Linked DNA regions of Homo sapiens: all the other regions are linked to region 1. Evidence: promoter capture Hi-C in 16 types of primary human blood cells and fetal thymus (Javierre and others, 2016). All regions are on one chromosome and are shown on one strand. Each heading gives the region's core, a stretch centred on a gene start or on the middle of the fragment in contact. The rest is flanking DNA. Distances are from core to core; before and after follow the strand shown.

The links. The method cuts DNA at HindIII sites, captures the fragments that hold promoters and counts their contacts. A CHiCAGO score of 5 or more calls a contact.
Region 2: a fragment that was not itself captured here is called in contact with the fragment with the promoter of LYSMD3 in region 1 in 1 of 17 cell types (megakaryocytes); the score reaches 7.6 in megakaryocytes.
Region 3: a fragment that was not itself captured here is called in contact with the fragment with the promoter of LYSMD3 in region 1 in 1 of 17 cell types (fetal thymus); the score reaches 5.1 in fetal thymus.

The regions. Positions count from the first base shown.
Region 1 is chr5:90,528,022-90,531,626 of GRCh38, reverse strand. LYSMD3 (LysM domain containing 3) reads left to right here and starts at 2,043. Exons shown (of 3, transcript NM_198273.2): 1 at 2,043-2,179. RefSeq lists enhancers at 1,387-1,646, 2,272-2,772 and a silencer at 1,757-2,006. The HindIII fragment of the contact is 4,420 bases long and covers 946-3,605 here.
Region 2 is chr5:90,786,842-90,790,446 of GRCh38, reverse strand. It overlaps ADGRV1 (adhesion G protein-coupled receptor V1), which reads right to left. Exons shown (of 90, transcript NM_032119.4): 68 at 2,137-2,376; 69 at 596-745. Among named protein-coding and RNA genes, the nearest start is that of ADGRV1, 230 kb to the right of the region's middle. The HindIII fragment of the contact is 152 bases long and covers 1,902-2,053 here.
Region 3 is chr5:90,268,339-90,271,943 of GRCh38, reverse strand. All of the region lies in intron 1 of LINC01339 (long intergenic non-protein coding RNA 1339), which reads left to right. Among named protein-coding and RNA genes, the nearest start is that of LINC01339, 20 kb to the left of the region's middle. The HindIII fragment of the contact is 8,813 bases long and covers 1-3,605 here.

The sequences.
Region 1 (3,605 bases), core at 794-3,293:
TGCACATATGTGTCTGTAAGTAAATCTAAGGTAATTACTTAGCAATGTAATAGTTCAGTCAGTTGCATTTAAAATTTTGATAGATATTGCCTAACAGGTTGCATCAATTTACACTCTCACTTCAGTACAACTTCTACTCTAGGGCAACTCACAAAAACTAAACGTTAGTGACTAAAACACATATTCCTAGAAATGACATATTCTTTCATCTATAGCGTTTTAACAGAAACTGTGTCAGGTGAAATCTTGAAACACTAAAAATCCTTTGGCTCTGCTGAGCACTGGGGACATCCTTTTTCTCAAAGACAAAATGCTTGTTCCTACTGGCCGGCTTTTTGGAACTTGGCCAAAATTCACGCTAACTGCTTCTTTTGTATATTCTAATAATAAAATATAATCCTATTCTTCCATTTTTATAAAAAGTTTAATATTTGCATCCTTGTTAAATACAAATAACTATTCAAGAGCATGCAGATATCTTTGAGAAAGTTATTTATATGAAGGATACAGGTATCGGTCCTATAGAAGTGCTTGAAATCTATCACTTTGGCTCTCACATTAATTCCGCTGTCTATTGACATTAAAATAAGAAAAGTAACCTATAGACAGAAAGAAGGTTGTATTCCCATTAACATTCATGAGGGCTAAGCAGCCGAAGTCCTACATATCAAGCAGGGAATATATCCTTTGTCTGCTGATGAGAGAACGTCTCAGTGATAAATGGTTACAGACAGGGGTGTCATGAGGGCAACAACACACAGAACAATTCAGACAAACTTTTTAAAAAAGTCTTCTCCTGCAGTTTTTTTTTGTGGCGCTGGGAAGCACAGTGCCTATCCCTGCTAATAAAAGAAAACTATTGCAATGCAAAACTCCTAACCTTTGCAGAGGCACTTACCAGAAAACCAAAAACATACTCTTTGAAAAACAATTTAAAACCAAGCTTCAAAGGCTTTCTAATGTATAAATATTCAGACATTCTGAAAAGCACTGCTCTGCACCCTGCACCCCAGCTATTTGTGCCTAAAATGGATATTGTCGTAACAGTTAGCATGGTTGTCAAAGTGCAACGTCTCTAATATCAACACTGAGAGACATCAGACTCATTAAAATGCTTTACATTCATTAATTAGGTTGGTGCAAAAGTAGTTGCGGCTTTTGCCAAAGTCATACATAAATTCAAACACATTATGATACTCATTTAACACATTTGTGATAAAAATCATGTATGAAGTCATGAGTTTATTTAATAAGCTAATATTCCATAGAGTCCAATGGTGACTACCAATGACTCAGTTAATTTTCAAACCAAAATAAGTTAGATTACAATTTGTTGACTCCCTTGACTCCTCGAGCCAGGGAAAACATTTCCTGGGGCCTGACTCTAGGTGGCTCACTTCCCTCACCTAAAAACAGGAAGGGTGAGACAACCCCCTCCAACCCTCGTCCTCGGTCCCCCAAGGATTTCTCTCCAGAATTCTGCCTCTTCTGCAGCAGTCTGGAGTCTTCAGCATGAAAAGGGTAACAAACATGGCGCAATTTTCTGAAACCGTGATGTCAACAGTGTTTTTGAGGTGTCCTTTCCCACCCTAAAGAAAATTCGAGATGCACAGCAAGAAAAAAATGCAAGACAGCTCCCCGACACATCCTGAGCCACGCCTCGTCCTCAGGGTGCACCCGACAGTCTCTGCCAGCGCAGTGTGGACGCTGGACAAAGACGCAGCCAGTAGGTCGCTGGTGGTCGCGGGTTGGATCCGCTGACTTGGCCACCAAATCTTTTCCTCGGGGAGTGAAGCGGCACGGAAGGAGCGGAGTCAAGGGCGGGGCTGGGGATTGGACCCGCCCCCGGGCCCGGGGATTGGACCCGCCCCCGGGCCCCGGAGGAGTCCCTGCGCCTGCGTGCCGGGCGTGGACCTGTGGTTGGACTCCCCCGTTTTGGGCTGCCCTCCGCGTCCTCCCCCGCCCCTTCCCACCTCCGCCCACTTGACGCGATGACGCATCTCAGGTTTGCGGACGTGGCGGCGGCGTACGGCCCGGAAGGCGGAGACGTTGGCGGCAGAGGCGGAGGCGGACGGGGTCAGCCCAAAGCAGAGGCTCGGCCATGAACTTACCCGGGACAGCGGCGGCGGCGGACCTTTTGGCCATCTTCTCGCAGAGTGCTCCCTGCTAACGGGGACAGGTAAAGATGGTGGCAGGAGGTGAGGGTAGCCCGGTCCAGGAGGGCGGGGTTGAGCCCCAGCTGCGTCCTCACGGGAGGCGCTGAGCCTCGGCCACAGGTGTGGTGGGGGCTGCAGGGCCGGGCTCGGCCCGTGTGGCGGACACCCCCGAGACAGGGAAGAACTTCCAGACCAGCCCTGCCAGGCCCTCTTGTCACACTGTCGGGGAAACTGAGGCTCAGAGGAAGGACGCCTACCTGCTGGATTACCTGGGCAGCTAATTTCCCACCCAAACACAGCATTTCTCCCACGACTTTATGTTGGCGTGAAATATTCGCTGACGGCATCTTGTCACATCGTTCAAGTGTCATGCTGTGACAGAAGACTCTGAGACGTAATCTTCGCTGACGATAGCAGGGAAAGAAAAACTTGACGTGTGGAATACAGAGGGAGGAGGTAGTTAAGTTTTAAAAAACAAAATTGTCCCTGGCAGCGGATAGGGTGCCTTTGATTCTGTCCCTTTGCAGCTTTAACTTGTGCCCTGTGACCCTCTTATTGCACCTTGCTTAGTTAAAGAAGGTCAAGGCGAAACACCCAGCAGCCATTCTACAGTACGAAGGTGTTTGGGAAACCGTTTTCAGTTACAGACTGAGCTGAAGAATGCTTTAACACTGTTTTGTGGCCCCTCGTAATCTAGGTAGCACGCAGGCTTGTTCCAAGTTTCTGAAAGGGAGTTCGTGCCTTTTTCCTGCTCTAAGAGAATTAAGAGAGGTGAATAGAATTGAGCCAGATGACTTAAATATTATGTATTTTCTAATCTCTGAGTAGTAGACTGGAGTGATCGCCTGGGTCAGTCTGTTCACTTCGGTTGAAGACACAGCCAGTTCTTGATCATTCAGAATACCCAGATTTGTAACACGATAGTCAGCTGCCTGCATTTCATTATAAAGGGGAGTGGAGAGATAGTGAGACAGGTGAAGTTCTGACCTTTAAATTATATTTAGAAATATATCGTGGAGAGAGGTTGATAGAAACAAGTATCTAAAATGGCTTTGGGGCATTGCTTAGTGATTTTCAGTTAGCTGCACTACTAAGCCAATTTTGAAGTTCTAAGTACAAATTATTAGGGTGAAACTGTCTAACAAGACACATAAGTAGGTCGGTATAGCCAAGTGTAAATTGCTGTATATTAAGTCTTAACTTTTTTGATCATGGATGCCTTTTGAGAATATGAAGCAATGAAAATTCTCCCCAGAAAAATATACATATGTATAAAATTTGCCTGGAATCTACAGGATTCAAAGACATTCCCTAGGTTAAAGACACAAGATTAAAAAAAGACCTGGTTAAATGAGTGGAAATAAAACTGTTATCCTTGGAGGAAAAGATGTGGTCATGACTTCAAAACTGCTTTTGAGATATAAAATGTGATAGTTTTCTTTAGTTTCA
Region 2 (3,605 bases), core at 728-3,227, 260 kb before region 1:
TTCCAAGAATTGCTGGCCTCAAAACTATGAAGTGTCAACTGAAGAAGCACCAGTTAATATCCAATACAGAAAGAGAGGTCAGTGTATAGAGAAATTTCACAAAATATGTTTTTCCTGCAAACAAATTACCTTGATCTGTTAATCAAATATCATGAAAACTTACAAGGGCATCCCCAAACATTCTATCTAAATATACATGCAAAGACAACCTCTTAAAAAACAGTTGCTAAATGGAAAAATTCTAATGAGAAATAAGGCCCTGGAGAATTTACACAAATCATTGAGAGGCTTAAGTAGGAAAGCCTTCACATTATAGCAAACAATAAAATGTAAAATCATTTGGTTCTTTATGATTAAGTGTGAGGAAAATCTTTCTGAACTAACTGTAACCAATTTTAATTTAGAGAGATAGCTAGAGGTTGATGCTGATGAGAGAGCCCAAAGATGTTTAAATAAAGCCTCTGTTTCTCTGAAAACTCACGTAACTTTAGTTTATCAAAAACTTTAATTAACTAGAACATGCAGTTTCCCTGTCCCTCTTAACCACATTTGTTAGGCAAACTGGTACTTTGAAAAATCAAATGAAAAGTAATACCATAATCTCTCCAAAGGTGCCCTTGACTCTTCTGACAAAGAAGGTAATGAGCAGGGGCCCTTCCAGAGCCAGAGGCTCTGAATAAGTCTTCTTAGACAAAGTTTCAGGAGCAAACTGAACAACTCCATTTGGGTCACCAAACTCTTGTATCTAAAAAATATAAACAACAGAGAAAATAATTTATAAAACAATAGGGATGAAATTATAGTATCCAACATATTAACAAACAGAGAAGCTGAGGAAATGAAAGAAACATAAAAATGACACTTGAATATACTCTACTTAGCTACCTAATTTTTGAAAACTTCTTTATCACATTGACTGTTACCTAAAACAAGTAGGTTCTTATTCCCCAAAGATGATGGGAATAAGAATCCAGAAAACTCCCATTTGTAGAATCCCAAGAGAATAGTAATTTGATGCCTGAATTTCGCTTTATTCATCTCATATTTACTACATTTAATCAGTTAATTTTAGCTAAATTCTTCCTACTAGCTATGATATACATGGAGTGAAGCAAACAGGCCCTGTGAGGACTAATTTTGTGTATCAGCTTGCCAAGACTATAGTGCCCAGTTGTTTGGTCAAACGCTCATCTAGATGTCACTGTGAAGGTATTTTGGAGATATGATGAATACTTACAATCAGCTGACTGTACGTAAAGGAGATCACCCTCAAGAATGTGAATGGGCCTCATCTAAACAACTGAAGGCCTTAAGAGCAAAAACTGAGGTTTCCTGGAGAAAAAGGAATTCTGCCTCAAGACTGTAACTTAGGAATCCTGCTTGAGTTTTTAGCTTACTGAACTGCTCTGCTCCACAAAACTGCAACTTCAACTCTTTCCTGAGTTTCCTTCCTGCCAGCCTATTTCATGGATTTTGGACTTGCCAGCCCTCACAATCATGTGAGTCTGTTCCTTCAAATCTCTCTCTCTCCCTCCACCCTGCTGTGTGTGTGAGTGTGTGTGTGTGTGTGTGTGTGTGTGTGTCTGTGTCTGTGTGCATGTCTGTCCTACTGGTTTTGTTTCTCAGGAAAACTCTGACTGATATAGATCTCAAATAAGAGTATTTTACAAACTTCAAAAAAATGGGTCATCCCTCTGCATTATTTTCAGTAGTCTTGGTCCCAGCACTTTTTGCCTTAACTAAACAAGTACCATTTTTTCCTTCAAACTATCTGGAATATAACTAGTTAATAATTTTTACATTCCCTGAAGACAAAGATATCCAATGTTTGGTATGCTATAACAAATACCTCTGCTCTAAAACTGTCAAATATTCCAAAAACACCAAATTTTCTCCAAGCTTATAAAATAAGTATCATATACTAAAATGTTTTTAAAAAAAATATTACCAATAATCAGGCTATGCAATGAGCTGACATGAAAACCAAAAAGTTTGACCCTTCAGAATTATTATGATATTATTTGGTTTTATAATTTCCAATTTATCACAAGCTTATAGAGTTTCAACAAATGTAAATGTATTTTCTGATAAATCCATGAAATCCACATTTTGTGAGAAAAATAAAGCCATACATACGGTTAATGTAACATCTTTAGCTCTGGAGTCTAATTTAGCTTCTCCTTTCACAAGATGAAGTTTAATAATGAATGTCTCTTCAACTTCAATTTCTTCATGAGGATAGATTGTCAGAATTATGGTTCTCACTCCTCCTTCTCCTTCTCCAAAATAGAACAACCCGCTCACTGGGTCTGCAATGTCTCTATTCTGTGGCAGTAAGGCTTCTTGAGAGTTGGGTCCTACTGTCTCCCAGTTCACCTGCGGGATGTTTTTGGTTTTGGTATTTCTTTAATAGAGATCAATTTTAAGCAAAAAACTATTTCAGGGTATCTAGTATTAAGAAAATATATACACATATAGGAAAATTATTCTAGGATAATTCCATCAAATTCCTGTTTCATAAACTTGTTTTTTTTTGTTAAAAATAATGATATTTGCAGCTGGGTGTGGTGGCTCACGCCTGTGATCCCAACACTTTGGGAGGCCGAGGCGGGCAGATCACCTGAGATCAGGAGTTTGAGACCAACCTGGCCAACATGGTGAAACCCCGTCTCTACTAAAATTACAAAAATTAGCCGGGCGTGGTGGCAGGCGCCTGTAATTCCAGCTACTCGGAGCTGAAACAGGAGAATTGCTTGAACCTGGGAGGCGGAGGTTGCAGTGAGCCAAGATCACGCCACTGCACTCCAGCCTAGGCAACAAAGAGCGAAACTCCATCTCAAAAAAAAAAAAAAAAAAGAAAGAAAGAAAGACAAAAAGATATTTGCAACTATAAACTACATACCTATAGTATTCATGAATAATTTGTCATCACATAGGATAAAAACATATAAAAATCTATATTAAAATACGTATTAGAGAAATATAAACATTTTAAAAATATATAAGTACAATACTGTCCTGCTGTGTGCACAGGCTGTGCCAATCAAAACCTATATAAATAAGACAACAAAACCATGGAAAAACTCTGCTGTAGACCATGCAAAAATGCTAAATCTACTTATATTCCTAGTGTAAAAGACACGGAAATCTTCATACATTGTTATAAGAAACAAAGTTTTCTACATTTCTATGATTTGAAATGGTATGCCTCTCACACAATCTACAAAGAAAGAACATTGGGCACTTGTTTTTGCTTCTTAATCTTTCATCAGCAGCCCTCCAGCTGACTATTTCCTTCTTGAAACACCATGTCCTGTCGTCTTGGCTTATGTGATACTCATGTGCCACCTGCTTTCCTAGTTTTCCTCCTCCTTTACTTCTCAAGCTTCTCTGCTGGTTCTCCTTCCTCTGATCTCTAAATGGTGGAAGCTCAGGACTCAGCACCATATCCTTCCTGTTTCCAGATATGCCCCTTAGGCCCCACGTGTTCAAACACCTCCCCATGTGTCAACATCTTCCAGACCTGCATCTGCAGCCCTGACCACCCCACAACACACAGTCGCATGCTGCCCTGCCTATGTGACCACCCTCCCCTGGGATGTCAG
Region 3 (3,605 bases), core at 476-2,975, 260 kb after region 1:
ATGATCATATAGCTCACTGCAGCCCTGAAACTCATGGGCTCAAGTGATCTCATCTCAACCTCCCTATTAGCTAGGACTATAGGTGTGCAACACCATGCCTGGCTAATTAAATTTTTTTTTGTAGAGACAGGGTCTTGCTATGTTGCCCAGGCTGGTCTTGAACTCATGGCTTCAAGTGATCCTCCTGCCTCAGTCTCCAAAGCATTGGGATTACAGGCATGAACCACTGTGCCTAACATGATCCATTTTTTAAGAAAGGCCATTTCTGTTCTCTTGACTTATTCCCTAGCCTTCACTTATGTTTATGGGACAACTCTCAGTGCACCCCTAATTTCTATTTACTTGCTTGCCTGCTTTACTTACCATCCAGGCTCGCTGAATACCACTACCCTTGGTTGGTATGGCACAAAATGATATTTCTAATCTTTCTACTGTATTAGTAAACTGTTTAACATGATAAACTTCTTGAATTTCTAGTAATTGAGAATTTTAGGGTTTGGGTTCCATGAAACAAGTAATCACAAAGAAGACTATGTATTATTTAAATTTCATAACAAAATTTATGAAGAGTTTACTTATGTTGAAAAGGGTTATGTACAAAGGTAAAATTGAAAACCTTTCATCTTTTTGGGTATTAAATTTCTGATCATATTAGTAGAAAAAGAATCTCATTTATTGCAAACTTAATTTGTGCCACAAGGATCATTAGCTGTGATATCAGTGTGGCCACATCATAGTATGAGCAAATCATCACTTCCTTCTTTAGAAAAAAGTACAACAGTATAAAAATATGTTGGAAAAACAAAGGCTGTAGTTTTGGTTTACATATTCTAACAAGTTAAACCTGAAATATCGATATAATCTTAGAAACTCTAGTATGATAACCTCACAATAATTAAACATATTAAGGAGCAACAACTTTATATATATTTTGTAAATAACTTCTCCCAAGTTATATCAACACAGATTTATCAAAAGGATATTAGCATCAACTTAAACTTGATAATATTGCCCCTTTGCTGGTAGCTCTGTTTAGCTGACTGGGGTTTGTCTGGATAGCAATTAAGGCTCTCAGTTTAGAAAGCCTGATAAGGTTACCATCATTTCTAATAGCTATATTGTTTGGGCCATTGTTTTTGCCTATAGATAGTAATCCTCTTGCAAGGCTTAAACATTAATCTAATCTTCCCTTTATGCAGCCTCTAGGTCATCTTAGGTTGAATCTGTACTCATAATACTTTATTTGTGTCACAATATCCTATGACCCAAATCTTTCTTGAAAAGCTGCAAAATCCAAGAAATGGGGAAAATGGCAATATTATTAGTTGGCAATGGCACACATTTTCCTTTACAGAACTTTGAATTATGCCTTTTTAGCAGATTTATGATCACGCAGGGCACTGAGTCTTGCACAGCTGTGGTTTAACCTCAAGTACTTTTGTCACATTTTGTTTTTTTTTATAAAATGTGTTTCAATTCTGACATTTAGAAGATTGCAGCTTTGAAGAATTTGTGTGGACCTTCTGCAAGCATTTTATTTTGCTAATGAACTAAAATTGATCTCTGTAATTGAAAGATAATGATACTATTTGAGTGTAATGACTAAATACCAAGTGAAATTTTGCACAGATGAAATTCTACACAACCCTGGATATAATATGACTGCTTTATGTTAATTGTGAAATCACATTGTATAGCTTCTCTAAATTGTTTAATTACTAAAGTATAATAATAGATGAAATGAGCAGTGGGAAGGATGATAGACTGGACGCCTGCAGACTTGAGTTCCAATCTGGACATGTGAAACCTTGAGCAAGTCCCTTAATTTCCTTGGGACTCAGTTTTTACCTATAGACTTGGTAGAACAAGGTTATTTAAGGTCTCTTGCAGCTCTTCCATCTTTATGAATCTGAATCCCACCAAATTGATTTTTCATAGTCAGTAAAAAATCTGAACAAAGCTGAACTGTGAAATTTTTGACAAGCATTAACAGGATTGAACATGTTTTAGACGCTCAGTGTTCTGTAGGAGAAAAGAACAGTTAAGAACTACCCCCATCCCTAACCCACCCTATACATAACTGGTGTTTCTTTAAATTTGAAACTGCAATTTCCAGTTACTCTAAACTGGTTTTGTACTTCTTGTGGTAAGGACAGATAGAGAATGCTCCAACCTATCATTTCACAGGGCATGTTGCACTTTATAAACAGTAACGAACAGTGGGTTGGGTGGGAGATCTGGATCAGTTTGGGTGGTGTATAGTCCAGACTACACTAGATTTATCTTCGATACAGGCTCACAAATCTTACTGAGATTTTTTTCCCCCTGGGGAGTAAGAAAATAAGAGATGCAGAAAAACCCAACTGCTGGCAATACCAGGGAACCTGCTTTATTAAATTTTCCCCAGGGAGGTTCATTATTAAGCTCTGAAATATAAAATCTTACTATAAATGGCAGATGGGGACTTGTACTCTCTTTATTTGTAATATGCATATTTTACTAATTTCCTACTAAAATCAAACTTACCGATTCTCTCCCTCTCTCTCTCTCTCTCTCACACACACACACACACACACACACACACACACACACTTCTCTGTAGAATTTTGTGGGTGGACACGGAATATTAAATTGTACAGAGAATGTTCACATTCTCCTTGAAACAAAGATTAATGGAGGTTCTTACGTACCATTTGTATTGCCTTTGCATTTCTAGAGTCTATGTAAGATACCCGTGATGAAAACATCAGAGAGAAGATTTTAGAAACAGGTAAAACAGAGTTGCTGTTTTACCTGTTTACCAGAAAATATCTAGCTTTATTTTTACTGAGGGATAAAAATACTTTATGCACATACATTTGAAATGAAAAGGTATAAATAAAAATGCAGTTGTAGAACAGAAAACCTGAAATAATAGATTATAATTTATTTGCTTTAGTATTCACAGGAGGTTAGTTTTTAGCTGTTTACATTAATATTACGTTTTTTTTTGTCAGGTAACCTCTGAGTCACAATATTTGATCACACTTAACACTGTTTTTAAAGGACAGAATTTAGGGTTTTTTTTTTGTTTGTTTTTAATAAATAGTATTCTATTGTCCTGAAAAAAGAATGATGTTATCATAGGCTTTTGTTCTGAACAAACTAATTCCCTGTTTGCCACTCATAATTTTTTAAAAATTATGATTAAAACACTAAATAATTCAGTTTAATTTACACAGAGCGAAATACATTTTTTTTGCTATAATTCAGAAATGTCAAGCCATTAAAGGGTTTTCGTAGGCAGAACCTGAAAAAGAAATGAGAAAGGAAGCGCCTAGAATGGCAAAAGATGTTGGGATTAGGAGGCTATTAATGGAGGGCCTAGAAGAAATAACAGTGAACACAAAATGTTGGTTTAGGCATGAAGTAAGCCCAGGAACACACTGGATGCACCTGCAATCACAGCAAAACCTATGTTAGTTTTTCTGTGATTGGGTTGGCTTTTCTGAAAAACAGGGATAATGGTAGAAAAATAAGTATAAGGCAAAAGCACAGTAAAATCTGCTTGGAAACCATTTATATTTGAAAATTATTTTTAAATGAAAAGATTATTTTCTGTGAAA